Linked DNA regions of Homo sapiens: region 1 is linked to region 2. Evidence: promoter capture Hi-C in 16 types of primary human blood cells and fetal thymus (Javierre and others, 2016). All regions are on one chromosome and are shown on one strand. The core of a region is centred on a gene start or on the middle of the fragment in contact, and the rest is flanking DNA. Distances in the headings are between cores, read along the strand shown. Region 1 holds the start of ZNF793 (zinc finger protein 793). Region 2 holds the start of ZNF260 (zinc finger protein 260).

Region 1 (4,909 bases), core at 1,388-3,887, 980 kb after region 2:
GATCAATCAGGCATTTAATAGGCACTTTATAAATACTCATTTTACTTCAATATTATTATTTTTGTTTTTTTAGAGACAGAGTCTCACCCAGGCTGGAGTGCAATGGCACAATCTTGGCCCACTGAAACCTCCACCTCCTGGGTTCAGTGATTCTCCTACCTCAGCCTCCCGAGCAGCTGGAATTATAGGCGTCCACCATGCCGGCTAATTTTTGTATTTTTAGTAGAGACGGGGTTCCAACATGTTGGCCGGGTTGGTCTTGAACTCCTGACCTCAGGTGATCTGCCCACCTTGGCTTCTCAAAGTGCTGGAATTACATGTGTGAGCTACCATGCCCAGCCTAAATGGTGATTTTAAATTAATTACTATAATCACTTCAAAGTGTTGTCATATAAACCACTTATATTAAATCAAATGAAGCAAGGACCCTTGACCTCTTTGTTAAATTTTAAAAATCTAGCAGAGCCATAGGCCTTTAATTTTTCCATCGCAAGGAAGAAGAGGAAACTGGTAATAATCTCCTCTGACAGAATAATCTCGCAACTTTAGGAACTTTATTTAAAGAATTCAGAAATGGGGTTGGGCGCGGTGGCTCACACCTGTAGTCCCAGCACTTTGGGAGGTCGAGGCAGGCGGATCACCTGAGGTCGGGAGTTCGAGACCAGCCTGACCAACATGGAGAAACCCCGTCTCTACTAAAAATACAAAATTAGCCTGGCGTGGTGGTGCATGCCTGTAATCCCAGCTACTCAGGAGGCTGAGGCAGGAGAATCGCTTGAACCCGGGAGGCAGAGGTTGCGGTGAGCTGAAATTGCACCAATGCACTCCAGCCTAGGCAACAAGAGCGAAACTCCGTCTCAAAAAAAAAAAAAAAGAAGAAATGTCAATTGTAGCATTTTAACACAGCATTGAAGTTATCTACTGATGCATAGCAAATTACCCTAAACTCAGAAGCTTAAAACAACAAACATGTAGTATCTTACACACTTTCTGAGGGTGAGGAATATAGGAGCTGCTATAGCTGAGTGCTTGTGACTGTGTCTCTCACGCAGTTGCAGTCAAACTATTGGCAGGGGCTGCTGTCATCTCAAGGTTTGACTGGGGCTGGGAGATGTGCTTCCAAGGGTGATACACTTGGTTATAGGAAGGCCCCAGCTACTCCCAGGCTATTGGGTGGAGGGCTTAGTTCCTTGCTACCTGGGCCTCTCCATAGGCTGTCTCGGTATCCTCATGACATGGCAACTAACTTCTCTCAAAGTGGGGGCAGCAGCCTTTAAGACAGAACTCAAGGTGCCATTTATTATATTTAATCTCAGCAGTGACATCTATCACTGCTACTGCATTCTATTAGTCTCACAGTCCAACCCTGGTACAATGTGGGAGGGAACTACATAAGAGTGTGAATAGTAGGAGGTAGGAATCATTGGGAAACATTTTGAGGTCAGTTATTGTATCAGTTGCTAGGATGACCAGTTGGAATTAGGATTTTTTTAAAAAGCCATTTTCATAAGACAAGGCAATCTTTTCTAGAGATGTTCCAATACCTGTGATATGCGGAGCACTGCGCTAGGTGGTATTCAAGGCAGGCCTGTAGTGAATGCTGTTGGACCCAGCCACCACCCCTGAGCAATCATATGCAGACCGCTGGCTTCTTAACTGCAGACACCTACAGACTCAGCCTAAGACTTTCCCACGAGGCAGGCTCGAAGTGCTGGAGCTTTAACACCTCTGGAGTGGCCCTAAAACAATTAGGAAGAGAGATGGTGTAGACATATGTAAGCTTCATCGGCCTGGTGGTTGTGAAAACTTGGAAGTGGTTTCTACACAATCCCCCAGAGGTCCCAAGCTGACTGAGCCCTCATTGATCCAGAGCTAATCTGCTCACCTATGCACTGTATATTCGTTCCCATCGCTCCCGTCTCACTTCTCCATCCCCCACCTACCAAATAAACTGCTTGCACTCATTCTTTCCTCAGGTCGGCTTCTCGGGCAAGCCTCCTTAGGTAAAAACCTTGCTTTCAACATTTCCTTTCCATTATGCGCTAAGAACTCTGATCTCTTCCCGCTGCGGCAGCCCCGCCCTTTCCTTGCGGCTCCGCCCTTTCCGTGAAGTCACGCCCGTCCTTAGGCTGTCTCTGTCTCCCTAAGAGCGAGTCTCTTCGCTGCTCTCTAACTCCTAGAGCTGGCTCAGAAAGAGTTTCACATTGCCATAGGGGAGCTCCTAGGAGAGGCTGCACCCATTGCACGTAAGAAGCGGTAAAAATGTACGCGGCCATCTTACCAGGCTGCCGGAGACAAAGAAAGCTCAGCTTTGATGTCTGGGCGCCACCATGTTGGCCACAGGAGGTTTTGGCATCTGAGATGCTGAGTTAAGAGCAGAGACGACATCTCTGTTTAGGGATCCAGGGACACTTCCTTCTCCTTGTCCTAAAATAGCCTTATCTTTTGGTCTAGCAAAGGGCTTAATCATCCGTTTTACGGCACAGTTTTAAACATGGCCGCCCCAGGTAGGAGTCAAGTGGGCGTCGCCATCATACCTCCAATTACAGCTTTGAGAAACCCAGAATCCTGTTCACTGGAAGGTTGCCGGGTGGCGGCTGACAGCCTCAAAGTCGCAATTGAGTCTGCGCACCGGCCATTCAGGATGGGACGACCTTATACCGCGGTGAGGCGGCGTGGCAGGACGACCAATTTCAGATTCAGGGCGCGGATGCAGCATAAATGGGAAGGCACGGTTTGAGAAACGGTCAAACCTGGGACTAGTGGAGGATAGTGAGCTGCCGACTACGGTGGCCGACTGGGTCAGCTATGGGTGCCCGTGAGGGTCAATGACAAGGGAACTGAAGGGTTAAGAGATTCGGCGTCTGAGCCTCGCGGGGCCTCAGTGGTGGCGGACAGAGGTTTGCGGGAGTCAGTGGCACGGTCTCTGAAGAAGATGGATTGGGAGTGTGTGGGAATCAATAAATGCGAGTTCTGTGAAATGTCTTGATTTTCAGGGTGCATGGGGTCAGTAATAGTGGTCTTCATGGGTCTGGGGTCAGTTGGGATTTTTCAGACACTGGTTTAGAGATCTTTAAGGTTAATGATCGGAGCCCGAGAGGATCAGTGATCGGAGGTTCTAAGTTCTGTGGGCAGTAATAGTTTGGGTACTGGAATTGGTGATTGTGGAAACTTTGGGGTTCAAATGAGGGAGGTCAGTGGTGATGAATGTTTGGAGAAATGTTTTGGGCCATCGGTGATTGAGACTTACTTCATATCATCGGTGGAGGATCGGAGAGTATTAACGATTGGACTTTTGTAGATCAGGGAATGGAGAATAGAGTCAAGTGTGCTTATCTTAAAGGTACGCCTCAATGAGGCTCAGTGATTCGGACTGTCACTTGTGGGTGGGAGTGGGACTGTGAGAATCAACAATTGATCCTCAGTCGTTGGGATATCATTGGCAATCAGTGTGGATTCATGATTGGGGGCTGTGTAATTTCACTGGCAATCAGATCGGATCGGTGTTCTTTGTAGTTACTGACCTGTAGTCTCTCCTGGTCAGATTTGAACATAGGGGAATATCAGTGACTATGAAAACCTCTGAGGGTTGGAGATTGGAGGCCAGTGATTGGGGGCACTATGCGTGTCTGATTAGGAGACTTATAGGGGTTGGTGTTGAGGGTCCTGAAATGTGGAGATTGGGGATGGGAAAATCACAGATTTGAGGCTGCAAGCCTGCATAGCGGGAACACATTTCACTCAGGTGACACTCCCTAGCTGAATAGCAGCCAGTTCCTCTCCACCAAGGCCCATCTGAAAACTCTTTTTTGAACCCACACCCTTTTTATTGTTCTCTACAATAATGAAAATAATTTGAAAGGATCGCGTGCTAAACTTATCTAAAGTAACATGTTACTAAAGACGTGGCTTCTATTCTTGTTAGGGATCTAATGCATATTTTTTCCTAATGTTTCCTTTAAGGCTCTTTCTGGCAAAGGTAATGACATACGCATCTGTGCCAGCATCCCAAGAGTGAGGCTGGTTTCTGGAAATCCATTCTGACTCTGTGACAGCGGGGATGGATGTGACCTTGCCCGTGGTTAGAAAACAAATTTACTGAGTAAGTATCTAAAATGATAATGTAGGCTGTGTGCAGTGGTTCATGCCTGTAATCCCAGCACTTTGGGAGGCTGAGGTGGGTGGATCATTTGAAGTCAGGAATTACTAGCCTGGTCAACATGGTGAAACCCTGCCTCTACTAAAAACACAAAAATTAGCCGGGCGTGGTGGCGGGCGCCTGAGGTCCCAGCTACTCTGGAGGCTGAGGCAGGAGAATCGTTTGAACCCAAGAGGTGGAGATTGCAGTGAAACGAGATTGTACCACTGCACTCCAGCCCGGGTGACAGAATGAGACTCTGTCTCAAGATAAATAAATAAATATAAATAAACAAAATAAAATAAAATGATAATGTAAAAGATTTGGCTGAAAGAGCAAACAGAGTGTTTAGAAAATACTTTTATCTAGGCTCAACTTAAATTATCAAAGGAAGAGAAACTAGATTTGGAATTTATTGTATTCTGAGAAACTTTTTGCCTTGTCCTATATATTTTAGGCATAGCCATTTTTAACCTCCACTAATCAATTCCTTATAAAGTCCTGGCAGAAAAAATTCAAGACAGATAAAGCCACAACCGCCACAAAACAAAATGTAAGCTACTTTTAGAAACTGTTCCTCACTGAAATTAAAATTGAACTAATAGTTATTAAAATGGCTGAGATGGGATTGCAAATAAAATGGAAATAAGATTTGAAAAAATAGATTTAGGGGATATAAGTGCAGTTTTGTTACATGGGTATATTTCACAGTGGGGAAGCCTGGGCTTTTAGTGTAACTATCACTTGAATAATGTACATTGTACCAATCTG
Region 2 (5,194 bases), core at 245-2,744:
TGGAAGCAGAGCCTACAGACACAGAGGGCTGACTGTTCATTCACTGATTCAGCAAACATATACATTTATGATTATGTGTGCTGAGAAACCTTGGTTTACAATTTGTAATGGGATATAACAAATCAAAGGATCAAACTTACTTAGAAGCCTTCTCTAAGATGTAAGTGCCTTAGAACCTGGCTAGACAGTGCTATAAATTGCTGAAACAGGTACAGAGGGGAAATAGATGGAGGCAGACTGCAGGAAGAAGGAGCCCTTTAGACATAAAGAGCTTGAAGTTCCCTGTAACTTCCAGGTGGACTGCACATTGGGCAATTAGATAATATGGATTAGGAGCTCAGGACAAGCCTCCAGCAGAAACAGACATTTATTAGTCATCTGTATTAGATGAAGCCATGGATGGCAGTGTAATGTTGTTGCTGATAGGAGTACTTAGATGATCAAGGCCAGAAACTTAGAAACACCAATAGTTAGGGGAAAAGCAGAAACTAAGTCCTGTCTTCTTTGTATCTTTTACTTTTTCTGTATATTTCAAAACTATTAACCCTGTTACTTTTTTATTTTATTGAAAAATATGTTAAGAATAAGTGTGACAAGATACTTGAATATGTTGATATGTTAAGAATAAGTGTGACAAGATACTTGAAGATAGGATACTTCTATCTTTGTATACACAAGAAAAGAATTTCCCCTATATTTACAAAAGGCTGGGGAAACCCTGATTAAATTAGGAGTGAGATTGCTGCCCTCACTGACGAACTAGGGAGTTTCTTGACCTCTGCGCTAAAGGCAGGACAAGTAGCTTCCAAATTCTGTGCCGTCTGCGCTATTGGAAACTACCTCTTAAAGATATTCCTTAGTTCAGGGTTTCTCCAAGCAACTGCACCAAAGTTTCTCCAAAGTATTAAGAAAAGTCAATGCCTACTGGGTGTACAGGCACCCAGTAACAAGTTTTTCCGAAATCTTGCCTCTTTAAAAAAATAATGGAAAGGTAATGCTGATTTTGTTTTCTACTCCACAATAGGTCTGCTTTTATATAAAAAATCACCTTTAAAATTACTTATCCGCTCAATTCCTTAGCCTTTTCCGTTTCCTATTTTCCAGAAAACGCATCTTTATTATTTTAGAAATGAGAAAAGTGAGGCTTAGAGGTTACTACCTCACAAAGCCATCCGTCCATCCTCACAAACTTGGAACCAGTTTCTCACTAACTCTGCACCCTCAACACCCCCTCACACTCTCGGTCACCCACCCGCGAACCCACCCGAACTGTACCCCTGCCCCCAGCCACACAAGCTCGGATCACCGCACATCATAGAAGGCGATTCCTCCCCTCCATACTCCCAGCCCCGTCGCAGGCACTGCAAATCCTCCCCTCCAGCGTCCCTGGCCCGTTTCAGTGTCCAGAAACCCAAGTCCCACAGGGCCGAAACCCAACTCACCGGCAGACAAAGACGACCATGGCAAGTCGGAGATTCCGCGCCTGCGCACTCCTTCCGCGGGCAGCGCTCCCAGAGGTCTCCTGGGCTGGGCCAGGCCCCGACTCAGAACCGGACGGAATCGAGAGATCTTGGCCCGTCCTCCGTGCCACTCTTTTGAGGGTAGACTACATTTCCCAGAAGGTTCAGCGGTTTGAGTCAGCTTTTCGCGCGAACTTTTCCTCCGCCAGAGCTTGTGGGACTGTCTCCCTGGCCGGGGCAGGGGTGTAAGGCCTTAGTCTTAGTTTACTCTATCCCTGGGATTGGGTAGTGGTGTAACATCAGCTTAAACACGCTGTGCTGACTTTATGTAACAGCCACGGTGCGATACTAAGCCAGGAACCCCAGGAGACTCTCAGACACGGTTCGGGAATGAGGGTAATCCCTTTGGCTGGGCTCAAGCCGGGCGCCATCTTGCTCATCGCGGGCGTGGCGCTGAACTACATTTCCCAGAAGGCGCCGCGCCCTCGGCCCCTCCCCTCGCGACTCCCGCGGCTCGGGGGAGAGCTGCACGCGACCCAGGTGCTGGCCTCTGAGCGGGTCGGCTCGGAGACTACAGGATCAGGAGGAGGTTGGAGGTGAAGCGTCTGGAATCCGGTGCGGAGGTTGAGACTGAGTATTAAGTCTGTTCAGGCGGAACGCGCCGAGAAGGGCGGTTGTGAAATTGTGTTTTTGTGAATGTATGTCCTAGCACAGTGTGTGTGTGATTGTGATTGTGTGTGACACCTTGTGTACGGATGTGGGGAGGACTCTGCGGGTGTCCCGTGAGTCCCTGTGTTAGGACTGTTATTGTGTGACTGTGTAACGCTGTGTGAGGGTGTGGGTTAGCTGTGACTGTGTGCCCGCGGTGGGTGTGTGATTGTAACTCTGTGACCATATGTTCGTTTGTGTGCAGATATAGGGAGCTTTGTACTTATGTAGTTGTGACTCTGTGTCCTTGTGTGGGAGTATGGAGGGTGGGTGCTTGTGACTTTGTGTACAGTGGTGGGTGTGTGACTGTGAAGCATTGGGTGTGCGTGGAGTTGAGACTGTGTTTGTGTGTCTTTGACCAAATGTCACACATAGTCATATGTGAGAGCAGAAGACAGCTCGGCCCCGTGATAGTAAAGGGGATTTTTCTATGACACTGAGTTTTGAGTTGGAAGCCCCAGTTTCCTCTGATAGCCCTCCCATGGCGGGGGAGGGGAACGCAGAGTAAGCTCTGGCCTTGTCATTTGGGCCCTAGGGGAGGTGTATTGTCTCCCTTCTCATTTCTGTCCTCCAAGAGAGGTTCCCCAGAGGAGAGGAAATAACGGTTGTGATATCTAAAAGCCATGTTTAAGGTGCCTTGAAGTTTTCTCTTTGTTCCTGAAATGCTTTATTTTTCCAGGACCTGATTTTTTTTTTTTTTGAGATGGAGTCTCGCACTGTCGCCCGGGCTGGTGTGCAGTGGCGCGATCTCGGCTCACTGCAACCTCCGCCTCCCAGGTTCAAGCGATTCTCCTTCCTCAGCCTACCGAGTAGCTAGGATTACAGGTGCCGGCCACCACGCCCGGGTAATTTTTTTGTTGTTGTATTTTTAGTAGAGACGGGGCTTCACTATGTTGGCCTGGCTTGTCTTGAACTCCTAACCTTGTGAACCGTCCACCTCGGCCTCCCAAAGTGCTGGGATTACAGGCATGAGCCACTGCGCCCGGCTGATTTTTTTTTTCTTAGCAAATGCCTAAAAGGACTTATCAAGTAACCTGGAATCTTCTGTTACTCTTTGGAAAAATCTTCCTAATTTTGTCTTATTAATATAGCAAATGGTTCAGTTTATCATGTATGCTTAGTTTGGTTTTACCTATATACATATGTAGATATATATGCATATACATAAATATACATACACATATTTGTATATGCACATATTGAAATGTATCTCATGTTTTAAGTGATATTTTAACTTCCTACATAATTGAAAGCTATTTGAGAATATATTAAATTGTAGATACTGTTAATTGTTTTGCCACATATGTGGCTAACCCAATATCCATTCCCTTCTTTATTGCTATAAAAGTCCTGATCTTGTTTGCTCTGCTTAAAGAAAAACAAACAGAAAACAAACAAAAAACCCAAACTCTACGTGTTCTAGCTTCTCCTGTTGATGTAAGTTAAAGTTCTTAGATTGGGCTTCTCAGACAGTTTTTTTTTTTTTGAAATGGAGTCTTCACTCAGTCACCCAAGTTGGAGTGCAGTAGCGTGATCTCAGCTCACTGCAACCTTCACCTCCCGGGTTCAAGCGGTTCTCCTGCCTCAGGCTCCTGAGTAGCTGGGATTACAGGCGACTGCCACCATGCCCGGCTAATTTTTGTGTTTTTAGTAGAGATGAGGTTTCCACCATGTTGGCCAGGCTGGTCTCGAACTCCTGACCTCAGGTGATCTGCCTGCCTAGGCCTCCCAAAGTGCTGGGATTACAGGCATGAGCTACTGCACCTGGCCACTCAGGCAGTTCTTTAAAGGTATGGGGATGGGGTGGGGCAGGCTCAGTGTGCATACATTCTTTTTCCCCTTTCTGTCTGGAATGTGGATATTGTGCTACATGCAGAGCAGCTATCTCATAACCATGCATTTTTTTTTTTTTTTTTTTGAGACAGAAACTTGCTCTGTTGCCCAGTCTGGAGTGCGGTGGCGCAATCTCAGCTCACTGCAACCTCTGCCTATTGAGTTCAAGTGATGCTCCTGCCTCAGCCTCCTGAGTAGCTGGGACTACAGGCGTGCACCACCATGCCTGGCTAATTTTTGTATTTTTAGAAGAGATGGGGTTTCACCATGTTGGCCAGGCTGGTCTCAAACTCCTGACCTCAGGTGATCCGTCTGCCTCGGCCTCCCAAAGTGCTGGGATTACAGGTGTGAGCCACCATGCCCGGCCATAACCATGCATTTATAATGGAAGGAAGGAGATGAGAGTTTACAATGTCATATTAAATGAAAATAGAGGATTTTAAGTTATATATGTTGTGTGAAAGCAATTTGATTAGAAGATATGTATATTCTACCTATCTATGCATGAAATGTGTAGTTGCACTTTAATTTTCTTCATTGTAACTAGACTCAAGCTTGTGAAAGAAGGGACTTGTCTTTTTGTTTAGTTGTTCCATCTTCACCATTTACAATGGCTAGCACATAGTTGGCTCTCAGTAAATATTTGATTAATGAAAGAATAGTAAGTAGTTAATAAATGATAGCAGTGCTACTTAGTTTCTTTTTGGTTGCACAGAGGAAACATGCCCAGATTGCCTTAGGTTTCTGTTACTCTCTGAGATTACTCTGTGTTAACTCTACCTCTGGGGTAGTGAAGAGGTATGCCAAGGGGTGTTATAAGCCAACATTCTTCAGACTGGGTATAAGTTCTTCATCATCCATAGGACTTTTGATGTTGGGCGAAAGATATTCACTGCTTTGATTATTTATTGTTTTCTTTGATTATTTATTAAGTTTCTGTAAAGCATAAAATATAACCAATTTTTCTCACATTTAAACTTGATTATTAATTTTGATTAATATATATTTCTTTTTTTTTTTTTTTTTTTTTTGAGACAGAGTCTTGCTCTGTTGCCCATGCTGGAGTGTAGTGGCACACTCTCGGCTCACTGCAACTTCCACCTCCTGGGTGCAAGCGAGTCTCCTGCCTTAGCCTCCTGAGTAGCTGGGATTACAGGTGCACACCACCACGCCTGGCTAATTTTTTGTATTTT

The links. Contacts are between HindIII fragments. The CHiCAGO score rates a contact against its expected background, and 5 or more counts as called.
Region 1: the fragment with the promoter of ZNF793 here is called in contact with the fragment with the promoter of ZNF260 in region 2 in 3 of 17 cell types (total CD8 T cells, non-activated CD4 T cells and naive CD8 T cells); the score reaches 6.5 in total CD8 T cells.

What each region holds. Positions count from the first base shown.
Region 1 is chr19:37,504,302-37,509,210 of GRCh38, forward strand. ZNF793 (zinc finger protein 793) reads left to right here and starts at 2,638. Exons shown (of 8, transcript NM_001013659.3): 1 at 2,638-2,665; 2 at 3,964-4,102. ZNF793-AS1 (ZNF793 antisense RNA 1) reads right to left here and starts at 2,786. Exons shown (of 3, transcript NR_110723.1): 1 at 2,538-2,786; 2 at 1,545-1,739. RefSeq lists enhancers at 1,556-2,347, 2,348-3,139, 2,705-2,854. The HindIII fragment of the contact is 7,284 bases long and covers 1,779-4,909 here.
Region 2 is chr19:36,526,777-36,531,970 of GRCh38, forward strand. ZNF260 (zinc finger protein 260) reads right to left here and starts at 1,495. Exons shown (of 3, transcript NM_001166037.2): 1 at 1,443-1,495. RefSeq lists enhancers at 792-1,502, 1,243-1,872, 1,503-2,211, 2,023-2,222. The HindIII fragment of the contact is 4,591 bases long and covers 1-4,553 here.